Linked DNA regions of Homo sapiens: region 2 is linked to region 1. The links are contacts of gene promoters, found by promoter capture Hi-C in human tissues and cell types (Jung and others, 2019). All regions are on one chromosome and are shown on one strand. The core of a region is centred on a gene start or on the middle of the fragment in contact, and the rest is flanking DNA. Distances in the headings are between cores, read along the strand shown. Region 1 holds the start of SHISA7 (shisa family member 7). Region 2 overlaps RPL28 (ribosomal protein L28).

The links. The method cuts DNA at HindIII sites, captures the fragments that hold promoters and counts their contacts. A contact is called where the count stands out against the background at its distance.
Region 2: a fragment that was not itself captured here is called in contact with the fragment with the promoter of SHISA7 in region 1 in 2 of the 25 tissues and cell types used here (dorsolateral prefrontal cortex and psoas muscle).

Annotation. Positions count from the first base shown.
Region 1 is chr19:55,439,915-55,447,670 of GRCh38, forward strand. SHISA7 (shisa family member 7) reads right to left here and starts at 3,386. Exons shown (of 4, transcript NM_001145176.2): 1 at 2,279-3,386; 2 at 697-851. The coding sequence starts at 2,949. RefSeq lists silencers at 566-635, 2,200-2,289, 7,128-7,422 and an enhancer at 2,078-2,706. The HindIII fragment of the contact is 24,914 bases long and covers 1-7,756 here.
Region 2 is chr19:55,391,763-55,399,518 of GRCh38, forward strand. RPL28 (ribosomal protein L28) reads left to right here. Exons shown (of 5, transcript NM_000991.5): 5 at 1-323. Among named protein-coding and RNA genes, the nearest start is that of SNORD157, 7.0 kb to the right of the region's middle. RefSeq lists an enhancer at 6,611-6,710. The HindIII fragment of the contact is 6,942 bases long and covers 1-6,468 here.

The DNA.
Region 1 (7,756 bases), core at 2,136-4,635:
CCCTGACAGCTCCTTGGACCTCTCCACTGATGCATTCATCATAAATTATAATAATATAGATCATATTTAAATGATATACAATATTAAATATGATATATCATATTTTAAATATATAATTATATATATTTAACAATAGCAACAGCCCACACTTACATAGTATTTTTTTCTGTGTTACACATTATTCTAATCACCTGCCTCACCAATTCATTTGCTCTTCACCATAACCCCATGAAGTGAGTATTGTTATGTTTCTTATTTTATGGATGGAGAAACTGAGGCCCACAGAGGTGAGGTCACTTGCCCCAGGTCACACAATGGCAGAGTCAGGATTCAAACCCAGTCGGTCTGGCTCCTGACAAATTCGAATTTGGTAGTTGTGCCCTTGTGTGTAGTTGGCTGTTAGGTGGTCTGACACCGAGCGCAGGGGCTTGAGAATGTCTAAACCTACATCACCAAGGTGCCCATGGAGCCCCACCCAGGGGGGTCCACAGGAGGGCAAGGAGAGGGTCTGGCTCTCTACGGAGTTCCTAGCCCCCGTCCGCCTTTCGCAGGGCAGGACCCGGCAGTGCAAGGCGGGCGTAGGGGGTGAGGGCGGGTCCTGGGCGATGGGGGTGGAGCCGCCATGGAGGGCGGGGCTACATGATGAAGGGGCGTGGCCAGAGACGGAGGCTGCGCCGGATCCCACGTTCCACTCACCGAGGTTGGGGGTCTTCACGGTGTTGTAGAGGTTCTTGGGCGTCCTGGGGGGCATGCTGTCGGGACCGCCGATCCCCGGGGTCAGGGAGCTGCTTCGGGCCCGGTCCGGGCGGGTCCCAGGCCCCGCCTGATGTCTCAGAATGTCCACCAGAGCTCTAAAGGTGGCAGAGAGGTGGTCAAAGGCCTGGGGGCTGAGGGTGGCAGGGGTACCAGGAAGGCTTCTTTCCGCTCCCTGCTCTCGCCCTTGGGTAATCTGTCACTCAGCCTGCCTTTTTCGCCATTGGCCACGCCCCTTTCTCGTTGGCCACGCCCCCTAGAATGACCCCCTTTCTCAGGCCACACTTCCTGCTTGAAGCGCTGCTGCCTTAACTCGTGTGGAAGCCATCGCTTCTGTGGTCCCTCTCACTTCCCTGTGGGCTCGCCCCACCCTGAATCTGGGACCCCATTCCCGTTCCTTTTGCAGCCTTCCCCATGGCAACAAAGGGTGCTCCATTTACCCAGTGATGCGGACCTCAAACATTAAATCACCTTGACTCTTCTTTCCCCCACCTTCATACCTTTCAGCAATCCTACGGATCGAACCTCCAAAACATATCCCAAATCAGACCACTACTCACCACCTCTGCAATCTCTCACCTGGATCATTGCAACAGCCCCCTCACGGGTCTCCCCACTCCCACCCTAGCCCCGTACACTCCAGTCTCACGCGCAGCCCGCATAATTTAAAAAATGGACAGATGGCATCACGCCCGAGCTCAGGACCCTGCAGTGGCCCCATCACACTTAGGATAAACCCGGGCCCGCCTACTTCTCCTCACCTCCTGCTGCCCACCGCCGCCAGCTGCACGGGCGCTTCCCTGCCCTGCAGGCCACCGAGGGCCTTTGCACGCGGTTCCCCTGCCCAAAACCTCTCGCCCACAGATCTCTGCGTGGTTCGCTCCCTCCCTTCGGGTCTCCGTTCAGAGGCCTTTTCGGATCACTTCCTCTAATCCAGCGCCCTCTCTCTCAACACTTTCCGCTGATTTTCTTCACAGCAGTCATCTAAAATTACACTGCACATGCTTACGGACTGGGCCACTGATAGTTAATGAGCCCTTACCGTGTGCCAGGACCCTGCACGAATCAACTCAGTTAATTACAATCCGAATAGGTGGGGACGATGATTAGTCTCATTGTGCGGACAGGAAACTGAGGAACAGAGACGTTAAGCAACTCATCCACTGTCACATAGCCTGTAGGCTGTGAACTTGGATTTGGAAGTCAGGCTTTTCCACCAGGGCAGAGACCTTGTTTTGTTCACTGGTGTATCCCCAGCTCCTGGCCCACAGAAGGTGCTCAAGAAATATGTGTCGAATGAATGAGAGTCTGGGCTTCTCCCTCTCCCTGCATCACTCCGCAACAGCCGGGCCGGCTCTGGCGCGACTTTCTCAGCCCCTGCCCACCTTCAGCTACGCCGGCGGCCGCCACCTGGGTCTCTGACCACCACGCCCTATCCCTGCAGCCCCTCCTCCTCGGATGGCTCCACCTCCCTTGCTGGGCCCCGCCCCAGGCTCGCAGTCCTCCCGCCCGAGAGCACACGCACCTGGGCACGTTGATATCCCGGTGCGCCCGGGGCGCACGGGACGCCTTGCTGAAGGCCACTTTGGCGCCGACGCCCACGGCCAGGGCGAAGCTGATGACCCCGCACACGACGTAGGCTGTGCTGCCCCCGGGGCCCTCGCCCCCGCGGCCCCCGGCACCCCCAGTCCGGCCCCCTTCCAACCACCCGGCCTGGCCGGGCCCTGGCCCCCCGCCCGCACCCCCAGCGCCCCCGGCGCCCCCAGCTAGCGGCGGCGGCGTGGTGGCCCAGCGCGGCGTGTCGTAGTTGGAGCAGGAGGCCTGCGCCAGGCGCATGTGACGGTGCTCACAGCAGAAGCGGTAGTGGCAGGTGCCACAGCAGAAGCGGTAGGAGCCGGTGCTGCAGTTGAAGGTGGCGTCGTACTGGCCCATGACATCGTAGTAGCCGTGGCAGAGCTCGGCGGGAGGGGGCGCCCGGGCCGCCGCGCCCGCCCCGCCCGCGGGGCCGGTCCTGGTGCCGTTGGCGCCTGGGCTCGCCGCGCCCCCGCCGCCCGTCAGCGCCCCGGTCAGGCGCCGCAGGTGCGCCAGCAGGGCGGGCAGCGGGCCCGCGGGCTCGGCGCTCGTGGCGTTGGACGGGCGCGCCCTGGCCTGGCCGGCGCTAGAGGCCAGGAGTACGAGGAGCAGGAGGGCCGGCATGGGGCTTGCAGGGGGTCGCACTGGGCCGCCAGGCTGCGGGGAGAACGAGAGCAGAGGTTGGAGCGCTGGGCGGGAGAGAAACGGTCAGAGGGTGAGAAACGTAGAGATGGGTGGGCAGAGAGGCTGGGGAGGGCGGGCGGGGGGCGGCAGAGTGTGGGGAGCAACAGGCGCCAGGAGGCAGGAAGGGCGGAGGGAGCTGAGCTGCGTGGGCCCAAGTTGGCCGCCCCACGCGCGGTGGGCGACGATGGGAGAGTAATGGAAACGCGCCCGGGCACGGCTGGGGGAGAGAAATGAGCATGGGCGGACAGAACCGGGATCAGGCGAGAGATGAATGCGGGAGAAGCGATTGGGAGGGTCGACAGACACCAGAGGGGTGTGCAGACATTAGGACGAGGAGCGAGGCGAGGCGCGATGTAAGGAGAAGAAACGGGGGCGGCGAAGAGGAGAGGGCAGGGGAGGCAGCTGGAGGGAGGCGCGCGAAGGGGAGGGGAGGGTGGCGAGGGGAGTGGGGACCGCGGAGGGAGGGAAGGAAGCGAGACAGATGAGGGGTGGGTGGGAAAGGAGGAGTCAGGGAGACGGGGAAGGAGGGAGAAAAGAAGGGGAGGAGGAGGAGGGGGAGGAGAGGGAGGGAGGAGGAGAGAGAGAAGTTGAGAATTTGAGTTTATAGACCAGGCAAGTGGGAAGAGGCAGTGCACGGTTTTTCAACACTGACATTCGGGGACCGATGCTGCTTTGTGGTGAGCGCCTGTCCTGAGCGCTGTAGGATGTTTAGCAGCGCCCTCTCCATGCCAGCAGCACCACATTCCCCCGAGTTGTGACAATGTAAGATGTTTCCAGGCATTGCCAAATGTTCCCCTGGTGGGAGGAGGCCACAGCTGCCCCCGTGGAGAACCACTGACTTACACCCCTATGGTCCTCAGTGCCCCGAAATGCCAATTTCTCTCCCTTAGTTAGATCTGATAATCAAGGGATCTTAGGTGCCCTCCCTCCCTCCCTCTCTCTCCCTCTCTCTCTCTCTCTCCCTGGCATGCACACGCACACACACACCACTGTTACGGCGTCGGGTTTGAAGGGTCTCTGTCCACAGCTGAACCACAACCACAGCAGGGTGGTTCCCCTGCCGACTGGACCTCCTGCCAGCTGCCTGACACTGACAGGCTCTTATCTAAGCTCCCTGTGCCCCAAGTCCCCCATCTGTAAAATGGGGATAAGGATGGTTATCTCTGAGTGGTCAGGAGGATGAACTGAGGGAATATGTGTAAAGAGCTTAGAACAGTGCCTGGCATATTGCAGGTGAAATATGAAAGTGTTTGCTGCTGCTGCTATTTCAGAAGGGAGATACAGGCTGAGAAAGGGTCGTCCGGGTGCGGCGGCTCACGCCTGTAAATCCCAGCACTCTGGGAGGCCAAGGTGGGCAAATTGCTCAAGCAGGAGACCAGCCAGCCTCGCCAACACAGCAAAACCGTGTCTTTACAAAAAAAAAAAAAAAAAAAATTAGCCCGGCGTGGTCGTGCGCACCTATAGTCCCAGGTACTCAGGACGCTGAGGTGGGAGGATAACTTGAGTCCCAGAGATCAAGGCTGCTGGGAGCTGTGATTTCACCACCGCACTCCAGCCTGAGTTGACAGAGTGAGACCCTGTCTCAAAAGAGAGAGAAAAGGTGATGCAGAAGAGAGGTGGGAGTTGGTGGTGGTGGTGGTGGGCACGTCTTCCAGCTGTTTCTATGGCAACAGTCCAGCCAAGTCCCAGACACGCCCACCCCCGTGGACCTAGAGGGATGATAGAGGTGGGAAGGATGCCTGGCCTCGGGTTCCGGGAGAAGGAAACGTCTGAGCTCTACCTGCAGGAGGAACCCCCCAGGGGTCTGGGGTGACTGCCCACGGAGTCTTACATTTCCTCTCTGCAAGAACCTGATCTGAACAGCCCCTGCCCTGAGCTAGCTGCCGAGAGGCTGCCATAGAGCTTCCCAGGAGCAGGCATGATGCGCGGGGTGTGCATTCGTTCTGCAAATCTTCATTCAATAAATGTCTCCTGAGCAGCCTCCCTGGGCTGAGGATGCAGCAGTGAGTAAGCCCACAGGGTTCCTGCCTTTACGGGGGTTTACGTGCTAGTGAGGGGGGACAGTCAGCAGATGGACACAAATGAATGGGACACATGTTGACGCCAATTGTGAAGAAATAAAAAGGAATGATGAAGGAAGCCGTGAAGAAATGAAAGCAGCATAAAGGGATGGAGGGGGTGGATGGGATTGAGTCAATAAATATCACTCGGTGTTATTTTCTATTATATGCCACCATCCATCGTGTGTGTGTCTAGGGACCACACCACTGTCAACAACATTGCTGCTGGTGGGGATGGGCAGAGGGTTGGAAGGTGAACCTTCCAGAGCCTCAGTGAGCTCCATCGCCCTCCTGCTTGGGGCCTCACCTTTCCTTTTCAGCTCCAGCTTGGACCCCTCCCCTGACTCGGTGCTAGAATACCCCACTGCCCACTGGACACTTCCTCCTGGGTGTTTAATGGGAGTCTTAGAAGTGGCTTGACCCCACACTGTGGAAGAGAGTTTGGCGGTTCCTTAAAAAGTTAACTAGAATTGGTCCAGGCGCGGTGGCTCACGCCTGTAATCCCAGCACTTTCGGAGGCCAAGGTGGGCGGATCACTTGCGGTCAGCCTGGCCAATATGATCACTTGCAAGACCAGCTTGGCCAATATGACGAAACCCCGTCTCTACTAAAAATACAAAAATAACTAGCCGGGCATGGTGGCGTGCGCCTGTAGTCCCAGCTACTCAGGAGGCTGAAGCAGGAGAATCGCTTGAACTCCGGAAGTGGAGGTTGCAGTGAGCCGAGATTATGTCATTGCACTCACTGTACTCCAGCCTGGGCAACAGAGTGAGACTCCGTCTCAAAAAAAAAAAAAAAAGTTGGCCGGGTGCGGTGGCTCATGCCTGTAATCCCAGCACTTTGGGAAGCTGAGGCGGGTGGATCACGAGGTCAGGAGATCGAGACCATCCTGGCTAACACGGTGAAACCCCGTCTCTACTAAAATTACAAAAAATTAGCCGGGCGTGGTGGCGGGCGCCTGTAGTCCCAGCTACTCGGGAGGCTGAGGCAGAAGAATGGCGTGAACCCCGGAGGTGGAGCTTGCAGTGAGCAGAGATCGTGCCACTGCACTCCAGCCTGGGCTGACAGAGTGAGACGTCGTCTCAAAAAAAAAAAAAAAAAAAAGAAGTTAACTAGGATTACCATGCACTTCCACTCTGCAGTGTCTACCCCAAAGAATTCAAAACATGTGTCCACACAAAACCTTATCCTTGAATGTTCATAACAGCACCTTGCACAACAGCCAAATACTGCAAACAATGCAATCACCCATTATGGAGGAACGGACAAACCAACGACGGCCTACCCATGCCACAGAATATTACTCAACCGTGACAGGTACCAAGGGCTGAGATACAAGCCACAGCATGCACGAACCTTGAAGACATGACGTTCAGTGGAAAAGTCCAGCCATAAATCTCATGTAGTGTATGATTTCATTAATATGAAATATCACAATAGTCAAATCCACAGAGACTGAAAGCCGATTAATAATTGCCCGGAGCTGGGGACAGGAGGATGGGGGGTGACCGCTAAAGGGTGGCCAGGCTTCCTTGTGTGGTGAGGAAAATACCCTGGAACTAAATAGTGGTGATGGCTCCACAACCTGATGGATACGCTAATGCCACCGAATCAAACACTTTGAGAATGGTTAAATGGTGTATTTCCCCACAATTAAAAAGGTAACAGGGACTGGCATGGTTGCTCACGCCTGTAATCCCAGCACTTTGGGAGGCCGAGGCAGGCGGATCACTTGAGGTCAGGAGTTTGAGACCAGCCTGGCAAACATGGTGAAACACTGTCACTACTAAAAGTACAAAAATGAGCCCGGCGCAGTGGCGGGCGCCTTTAATTCCAGCTACTCGGGAAGCTGAGGAAGGAGAATCGCTTGAACCCCGGAGGCTCAGGTTGCAGTGAGCTGAGATCACACCACTGCACTCCAGCCAGGGTGACAGCGTGAGACTCCATCTCAAAAAAAAAAAAAAAAAAAAAAAAAAGGAAACACGTCAAATGGCATCAACCACTCCCCTGTCCGCATTCTGGTTCCCTGTCACACCTGGAATAAAACCCCAACTCTGCCAGTAGCTCCTCTTCTCATCCTTTCCTTTTCCCTTCATACCTTCCAAGTTCATGCTCAAGACGCTCCACCTTCCTGCCTGTGCACGTGCTGTTTCCTTCGTCTGGGAGCCCCTTCCTTTCCACAGATCCTGCTCTGACCTGCCTCCTTTCTCCCTTCCTTCAGGGTGTCCCTAGCATGTCATTTCAGCCAGCCTTCCTGTCCTAGCGGTAACAGCAGCCCCAGACATGCTCCCAATTCCTCACTTGCTTTGCAACTTTCATAGCTGTCATCTCTGCTGGCCACATGTGTGTGTACTGACACACTCATTTCAGATGAGGACGCTGAGGTTCCGAGAGGTCACATCATTTGCCTGAGACCCAAGGTGCCCAAAGAGTGGGGCTGGGCTTTGAACTCAGGTCTCTGAGCACTGTGACCTGTACAGCATGGATGCCTTTTTCCCCCACACAGAGACACATCCCTTCCAGAAGTGGCACATGCATGCAGCACTGCAGATTCCTTCATTCATTGAGGGCTACCATGTAGGGTTGGGCAGGTCGTGCACTGCACAAGGGGGTCTGGCTGAGAGGCTGAAATCCTGCTGGGCTCTGCTTCCCAGGGCGTGTGCCAGTGGGGCTGCATCCATTTGGGG
Region 2 (7,756 bases), core at 1,748-4,247, 49 kb before region 1:
TTTATAAATATTTTGATCAGATGGACTCATGATCACAGATGTCTTCACATGCCTATGACTAATTTGTACACAAACTAATGCTCGTGTTTCCCAAGCACCTGGAAGACATGCCAGATCCATGTGCAGTAATGCCTGGTGGCTCCAGGTCTGCCCCGCCGTCCTGTGGGGCTGTGAGCTTTCCCAGCCTCCTGCCCGTGTTTGTGAATATCATTCTGTCCTCAGCTGCATTTCCAGCCCAGGCTGTTTGGCGCTGCCCAGGAATGGTATCAATTCCCCTGTTTCTCTTGTAGCCAGTTACTAGAATAAAATCATCTACTTTAAAATCTTTCATTATGAAATATGCATGTGGTCTTGAAAAACTGCAAATGAAAGAAGAGTATGCAGGGGAAGAAAATCTCAGAATCCCAGCCCCTAAGTTAGCCACCTGTGCTTCTCCTTTTTGGAAACTTCACACATATGCATGCAGATCTCCTCTTTTTGTTTGTCTAAGAGACGGGGTCTCACTGTTGCCTGGGTTGGAGTGCAGTGGCGCAATCACGGCTCACTGCAGCCTCTAACTCCTGGGCACTCTCAATTGTCCCGCCTTAGCCCCTTGTGTAGCTGGGACTAAGGTGTGCAGCACCACGCCTGGCTAATTTAAAAAGATATTTTGTAGAGACAGGGTCTCACTGTGTTGCCCAGGCTGGTCCTGAAGTCCTGGGCACAAGCAATCCTCCTGACTTCGTCCCCCAAAGTGTTGGGATTACAAGCGTGAGCCACTGCACCCAGCCTCATCTTTTTTTTTTTTTGAGGCGGAGTCACGCTTTGTTACCCAGGCTGGAGTGCAGTGGCGCGACCTCGGGTGAGCTACGCCTCCCAGGTTCACGCCATTCTCCTGCCCCAGCCTCCCCAGGAGCTGGGACTACAGGCGCCCGCCACCACGCCCGGCTAAATGTTTTTTGTATTTTTAGTAGAGACGGGGTTTCACCGTGTTAGCCAGGATGGTCTCGATCTCCTGACCTCGTGATCCGTCCGCCTCGGTCCCCCAAAGTGCTGGGATTACAGGCGTGAGCCACCGCGTCCGGCCCCAGCCTCATCTTTTAATGTCTTACACAGATTGGATCATGGCAACAGGAACCTCCCCCTTGCTCCTTTTCCCTAATGCACTGGGCTGTCTCTCCATCAGCACACACAGGCTGCGGGCCCCTTTCGATGGCCATCAGCGCTGCATTGATGAAGCCACTCATTTAAACACACCCCTCAATGGCTAATCCCCCAGAGGCTCCCCAGCACCCCTCTCCTCTGTTCCTCTTGAACACCTGGCCCTCCCCCAGGCCCAGCCATCCCTAGCATGTCTGAATCACACCTCCAGCGGCCCCAGCTCCCACCGGCCTCCCACACCCGCCCGCTCCCCTGCTGTCCCTCCAGGCTGTTCTCTACACAGTAGCAAATTGATCTTTACAAATGATAAATGAGACCTGTCATCCTCCCTTGGCCGACGCACCCCCCCCCCCCCCCGACCCCCATGAGGAATAAAAGCCCAAACCTTTCTCTAGGGCCAGCAAGGCCCGGGATCTGGCCCTGTCCAGTCTCCCCAGCCTCCTTAGGCTGTAATCTCTGAGGCCTCTCTCCTCCCTGAAGCTCCTAGCTGGTCCCTAGGCTCAGATGAAGACTGTCTCCAAAAAAAGAAAAAGGTATAATTCACGTAACATAAAGTCCACGCTTTTAGAGTGCACAATTCAGTGATTTTTAGTCTTCACAAAGCTTTGCAACCACAACCCCTATCTTATTCCAGAACATTTCATCATCCTGAATGGACACCCAGTATCCATGAAGCAGCCACTCCCACTCATGTCCCCTCTAGCCCCTGCCCTGCCAATCACCAATTTGTTTTTTTTTTTTTTTTTTTGAGATGGAGTCTTGCTCTGTCGCCCTGGCTGGAGTGCAATGGCATGACCTTGGCTCACTGCGACCTCAGCTCACTGCAACCTCCACCTCCTGGGTTCAAGCGATTCTCCTGCCTCAGCCCCTCAAGTAGCTGGGATTACAGGGGCCCGCCACCACGCCTGGCTAATTTTTGTATTTTTAGTAGAGACGGGGGTGTCACCATGTTGGCCAGGCTGGTCTCGAACTCCTGACCTCAGGTGATCTGCCTGTGTTGGCCTCCCAAAGTGCTGGGATTACAGGTGTGAGCCACTGCACCCAGCTACAAGTCTTTTTTTTAAAGGGACAGGGTCTCAGCTGGGTACGGTGGCTCACTCCTGTAATCCCAGCACTTTGGGAGGCCCAGGCAGGCGGATCACAAGGTCAGGAGATCAAGACCATCCAGGCTAACACAGTGAAACCCTATCTATACTAAAAATACTAAAAACTGGCCAGATGTGGTGGTGTGCGCCTGTAGTCCCAGCTACTTGGCAGGCTGAGGCAGGAGAATCGCTTGAATCCAGGAGGCGGAGGTAGCAGTGAGCCAAGATCACGCCACTGCACTCCAGCCTGTGTGACAGAGCGAGACTCCGTCTCAAAAACAAACAAACAAACAAAAAGATAAAGGTCTGTTGCTCAGGCTGGAGTGCTGTGGCACAATCTCGGCTCACTGCAGCCTTGAACTCCTGGGCTCAAACAATCCTCCCACCTCAGTCTCCGAAGTAGCTGGCACCACCGGTGTGCTCCACCACACCCAGCTAAGTTTTAAATATTTTTGTAGAGACAAGGTCTCACTGTGTTACCCAGGTTGGGCTTGAATTCCTGACCTCAAGTGATCCTCCTGCCTTGGCCTCTAAAAGTGCTGGGATTACAGGTGTGAGCCACTGCACCTAGCCCAGAATTTCTATTTATTTATATATATTTTTAAAAAGAATCTCACTCTGTTTTCCAGGCTGGAGTGCTGTGGCAAGATCAAGGCTCTCTGTAGCCTTGAACTCCTGGGCTGAAACAGTCCTCCCACCTCAGTCTCCAGAGAGGCTGGGACCACAGGTGTGTGCTGCCACACCCAGCTAATTTTTAAAATTGTTTTGTAGAGACACGATCTCACTATGTTGTCCAGGCTGGTCTTGAACTCCTGGGCTCAATCCTCCCAAAGTGCTGGGATTATAGGCGTGAGCCACTGTGCCTGGCCCCACCCAGAATTTTTAAAACATGAAAAAGCTTATGTTTTGGGCCAATCTCTAAAATATATTAAGTGAAAAAAAGCAACCTGCAAATAGTGTAAATGATATGCCAACATTCCTGTTAAATATTTTTAAATATTTAAACAATAAGATGCATGTGTATTTGCTTGTATATGCATCGAATGCCTCTGGATAGTCACAATATGCAAACATTTGTCTCAAGGAAGGAGAGTTGGAATACCATGTGATGAATATTAGCCTTTCTTTTTTTTCCTTTTCTTATTTATTTATTTATTTATTTTTTTGAGACAGAGTTTCACTCTTGTCGCCCAGGCTGGAGTACAGTGGTGCGATCTCGGCTCACTACAACCTCTACCACCTGGGTTCAAGCGATTCTTCTGCCTCAGCCTCCCAAGTAGCTGGGATTACAGGCATGCGCCACCATGCCCAGCTAATTTTGTATTTTAAGTAGAAACAGGGTTTCACCATGTTGGCCAGGCTGGTCTTGAACTGACCTCAAGAGATCCACCCATCTTGGCCTCCCAAAGTGCTGGAATTACAGGCGTGAGCCACTGTGCCTGGCCTTCTTTTTCTCTTTTTTTTTTTTTTTTGAGACAGAGTCTCTTGCACTCTCCCCCAGTCTGGAGTGCAGTGGCGCCATCTCGGCTCACTGCAAGCTCCGCCTCCCGGGTTCACGCCATTCTCCTGCCTCAGCCTCCCTAGTAGCTGGGACTACAGGCGCCCACCACCACACCCGGCTAATTTTTTGTATTTTTAGTAGACATGGGGTTTCACTGTGTTAGCCAGGATGGTCTCAATCTCCTGACCTTGTGATCTGCCCACCTTGGCCTCCCAAAGTGCTGGGATTACAGGCATGAGCCACCGCGCCCAGCCTCTTTTTCTCATTTTAAAGATAAAAATTTCTATAATGAAATGGCTCCCTTTCATTCTTGTATCTGGGACAACCAGTTCCCTTGATCAGGGACAACCAATGTTACCAGGTTCTCGTGTATTTTTCTGGAGAAATTCTATGCAAATGCAAGGAAATTTATATATGTATTCTTTTGCCCCCGGCTTCCTTACATGACTGGTAGTGTCCCATACAAGGCATATTGCACCTTGCTTTTTTGACTTAACAGTAACCTTTGTCTGAGCGCGGTGGCACATGCCTGTTATCCTTGCACTTTGGGAGGCTGAGATGCGAGGATCCCTTGAGCCCAGGAGTTTGAGACCGGCCTGGGCAACACAGTGAAATTCCATCTGTACAAAAAAATTAGCTGGGCGTGGTAGTGTGCACCCGTAGTTCCAGTTCCTTGGGAGGCTGAGATTGGAGGATCACTTGAGCCCAGGAGTTTGAAGTTGCAGTGAGCTATGTTGGCACCACTGCACTCCAGCCTGAACAACAAGAATGTAAACTTGTAAAAAAAAAAAAACTTTAAAATTAAAAATTCTGAAATACAGCATACACACAGAAAAGTGCATAAAATGTATTTATACACTTAAAAAATCATAAAACACCTATGTAACCAATACCCAGGTCAGGAAATGGAAGACTACCAGACCCTCAAACCACCCAAGTATTCAACCCTGGCTGGAGGTAAACAGTATTCTCACTTTTAGGAAAGTTCTCCCCCCTCCCCTCCCCACCCCTCCCCTCCCCTCCCCTCCCCACCCCTCCCCTCCCCTCCCCTCCCCTCCCCTCCCCTCCCCTCCCCTCCCCTCCCCATCCCTCCCCTCCCCTCCACTCCCCTTGTTTTTTTTTGAGACGAGTCTCACTCTGTCACCCAGGCTGGAGTGCAGTGGCTCACTGCAAGTTCCACCTCCCGGGTTCACGCCATTCTCCTGCCTCAGCCTCCCGAGTAACTGGGACTACAGGTGCCCACCACCACGCCCGGCTAATTTTTTTGATTTTTAGTAGAGACAGGGTTTCACCGTGTTAGCCAGGATGTTCTCGATCTCCTGACCTTGTGATCCGCCCGCCTTGGCCTCCCAAAGTGCTGGGATTACAGGTGTGAGCCACGGTGCCTGGCCTCCCTTCCCTTTCTTTCTGAGGCAAGGTCTGGCTCTATCGTCCAGGCTAGAGTGCAGTGGCACAATCTTGGCTCACTGCAACCTCTGCCTGCCAGGCTCAAGCCATCCTCCCACCTCAGCCTCCTGAGTAGCTGGGACTACAGGTGCACACCACAGCGTCCAGAAAATTTTTGTGTTTTTTGTACAGACAGGGTTTCGCCATGTTGCCCAGGCTGGTCTCGAACTTGTGAGCTCAAGCCATCTGCCTGCCTCAGCCTCCCAAAGTGTTAGGATTACAGGCGTGAGCCACTACACCCGGCCTCCTTGTTTTCTTTTATAGTTTACCACCACCATATGTATGTTTAGCAGGAGAATTTATTTTTGCCTATTTTTGAATTGTGTATGAAGGCATTCAAGCTGTAGTATCTTTTGTGACTTGCTTAGTTTTGATTATGTTTGTGCTGTATGGTATTGTTTCTTAAATATACAAGCATGTTTCTGCTGTTTGTAATCGGGACAAATGTTTTTGTTTTTGTTTTGAGACGGAGTCTCGCTCTGTCTCCCAGGCTGGAGTGCAGTGGCGCGATCTCGGCTCACTGCAAGCTCCGCCTTCCGGGTTCACGCCATTCTCCTGCCTCAGCCTCCTGAGTAGCTGGGACTACAGGCGCCCGCCACCACGCCCGGCTAATTTTTTTGTATTTTTAGTAGAGACAGGGTTTCACCGTGTTAGCCAGGATAGTCTCGATCTCCTGATCTTGTGATCCACCCGCCTCGACCTCCCAAAGTGCTGGGATTATAGGTGAGCCACCGCGCCCGGCCAGGACAAATGTTTTAAACCTGTTGTGTATGTCCAAGTACATGAGAGCTGGGCATGGTGGTGCGTGCTTATAGTCCCAGCTACTAGGGAGGCTGAGGTGGGAGGTGGGAGGTGGGAGGTGGGAGGTGGGAGGATCAGTTGAGCCCGGGAGTTTGAGTCCATCTTGGACAACATAGTGATACCGCATCTTCTTAAAGAAAACAACCTGTGTCCTATAGAGTCAGAAATGGGAATGTGAGGTTGGGCGTGGTGGCTCATGCCTGTAATCCCAGCACTTTGGGAGGCCGAGGCAGGCGGATCACTTGAGACCAGGAGTTCAAGACCAGCCTGGCCAACATGGTGAAACCCTGTCTCTACTAAAAATACAAAAATTAGCCCAGCTTGGTGGCACACGCCTGTAATCCCAGCTACTCGGGAGTCTGAGGCATGAAATCGCTTGAAACCTGTGAGGCAGAGGTTGCAATGAGCTGAGATTGTGCCATTGCACCCCAGGCTGGGTGACACAGCGAAACTCTGTCTCAAAAAAACAAAAAGAAAGAAATGGGAATGTGAATTTCTAGAGTGGGATTTGGGCTTGAGACGCAGGAAGGAGTTACCCCGGCATGGATGGTTGTGAAGAAATAGAAACAAAGGGAACCTCGATGTAAATGAAAACCAAACCGAAACCAAAAAGGTTGTTGAGTAATAAGTTGAGTTCTTTTGACTTGACTACAAAGTTTCAAAATGGGCTTTACCATCTCACTGTTCCAACTGGAGTCTATAGGAGTTCCTAGTGCTCCGCCACCTTGCCAACACTTGGTATTCTCAGATTTAATTGTTGTTTTTCTAGGAGTATAATGGCATCAATCTTGGTTTACATTTGCATTTTTCCAGTTACTAATGATGTTGAGTACCTTTACATGTGTTGAGTAACCATTTGGATTTCCTGTGTTGTGAAGTGCTTGTTCAAGTGTTTTTGCCAATTTTTCATGTTTTTTTCTTATTCGTTTGTAGGAACTCTTTATACATTTTGTTGCGTGTGTTGAGGGGAGTGGCGGGGGTGTTGAGACAGAGTCTCACTCTGTTGCCCAGACTGGAGTGCGGTGGTGCAATCTCGGCTCACTGCAGTCTCTGCCTCCTGGGTTGAAGCAATTCTCCTGCCTCAGCCTCCTGAATAGCTGAGGCTATGGGCATGCACCACAATGCCTGGCTGATTTTTATATTTTTAGTTGAGATGAGGTTTCGCCACGTTGGGCAGGCTGCTCTTGAACTCCCAACGTGAAGTGGTCCACCAGCCTTGGCCTCCCAAAATGCTGGGATTACAGGTGAACCACCGTGCCCGGTTTGTTTTGAGGAAGGGTCTCCCTCTCTCACCCAGGCTGGAGTGCAGTGGTACGATCATAGCTCACTGCAGCGTCAACCTGCCCATCTCAAGTGACCCTCACACTTCCGCCTCCGAAGAGCTGAGATTACAGGCGCACACTACCATGCCTGGCTAATTTTTTTCTTTTCTTTTCTTTTCTTTTCTTTGAGACAGAGTCTCGCTCTGTCACCCAGGCTGGAGTGCAGTGGCAGGATCTCAGCTCACTGAAACCTCTGTGTCCCAGGTTCAAGAGATTCTCCTGCCTCAGCCTTCCAAGTAGCTGGGATTACAGACATGCACCACCACGTCCAGCTAATTTTTGTATTTTTAGTAGAGACAGGGTTTCACCATGTTGGCCAGGCTGGTCTTGAACTCCTGACCTCAGGTGACCTGCCCGCCTTGGCCTCCCAAAGTGCTAGGATTACAGGCGTGAGCCACCCCACCCAACCTTGTTTAGTGTTTTAACGGAGGTTTCATTACATGGGCATATTAGACAAATCA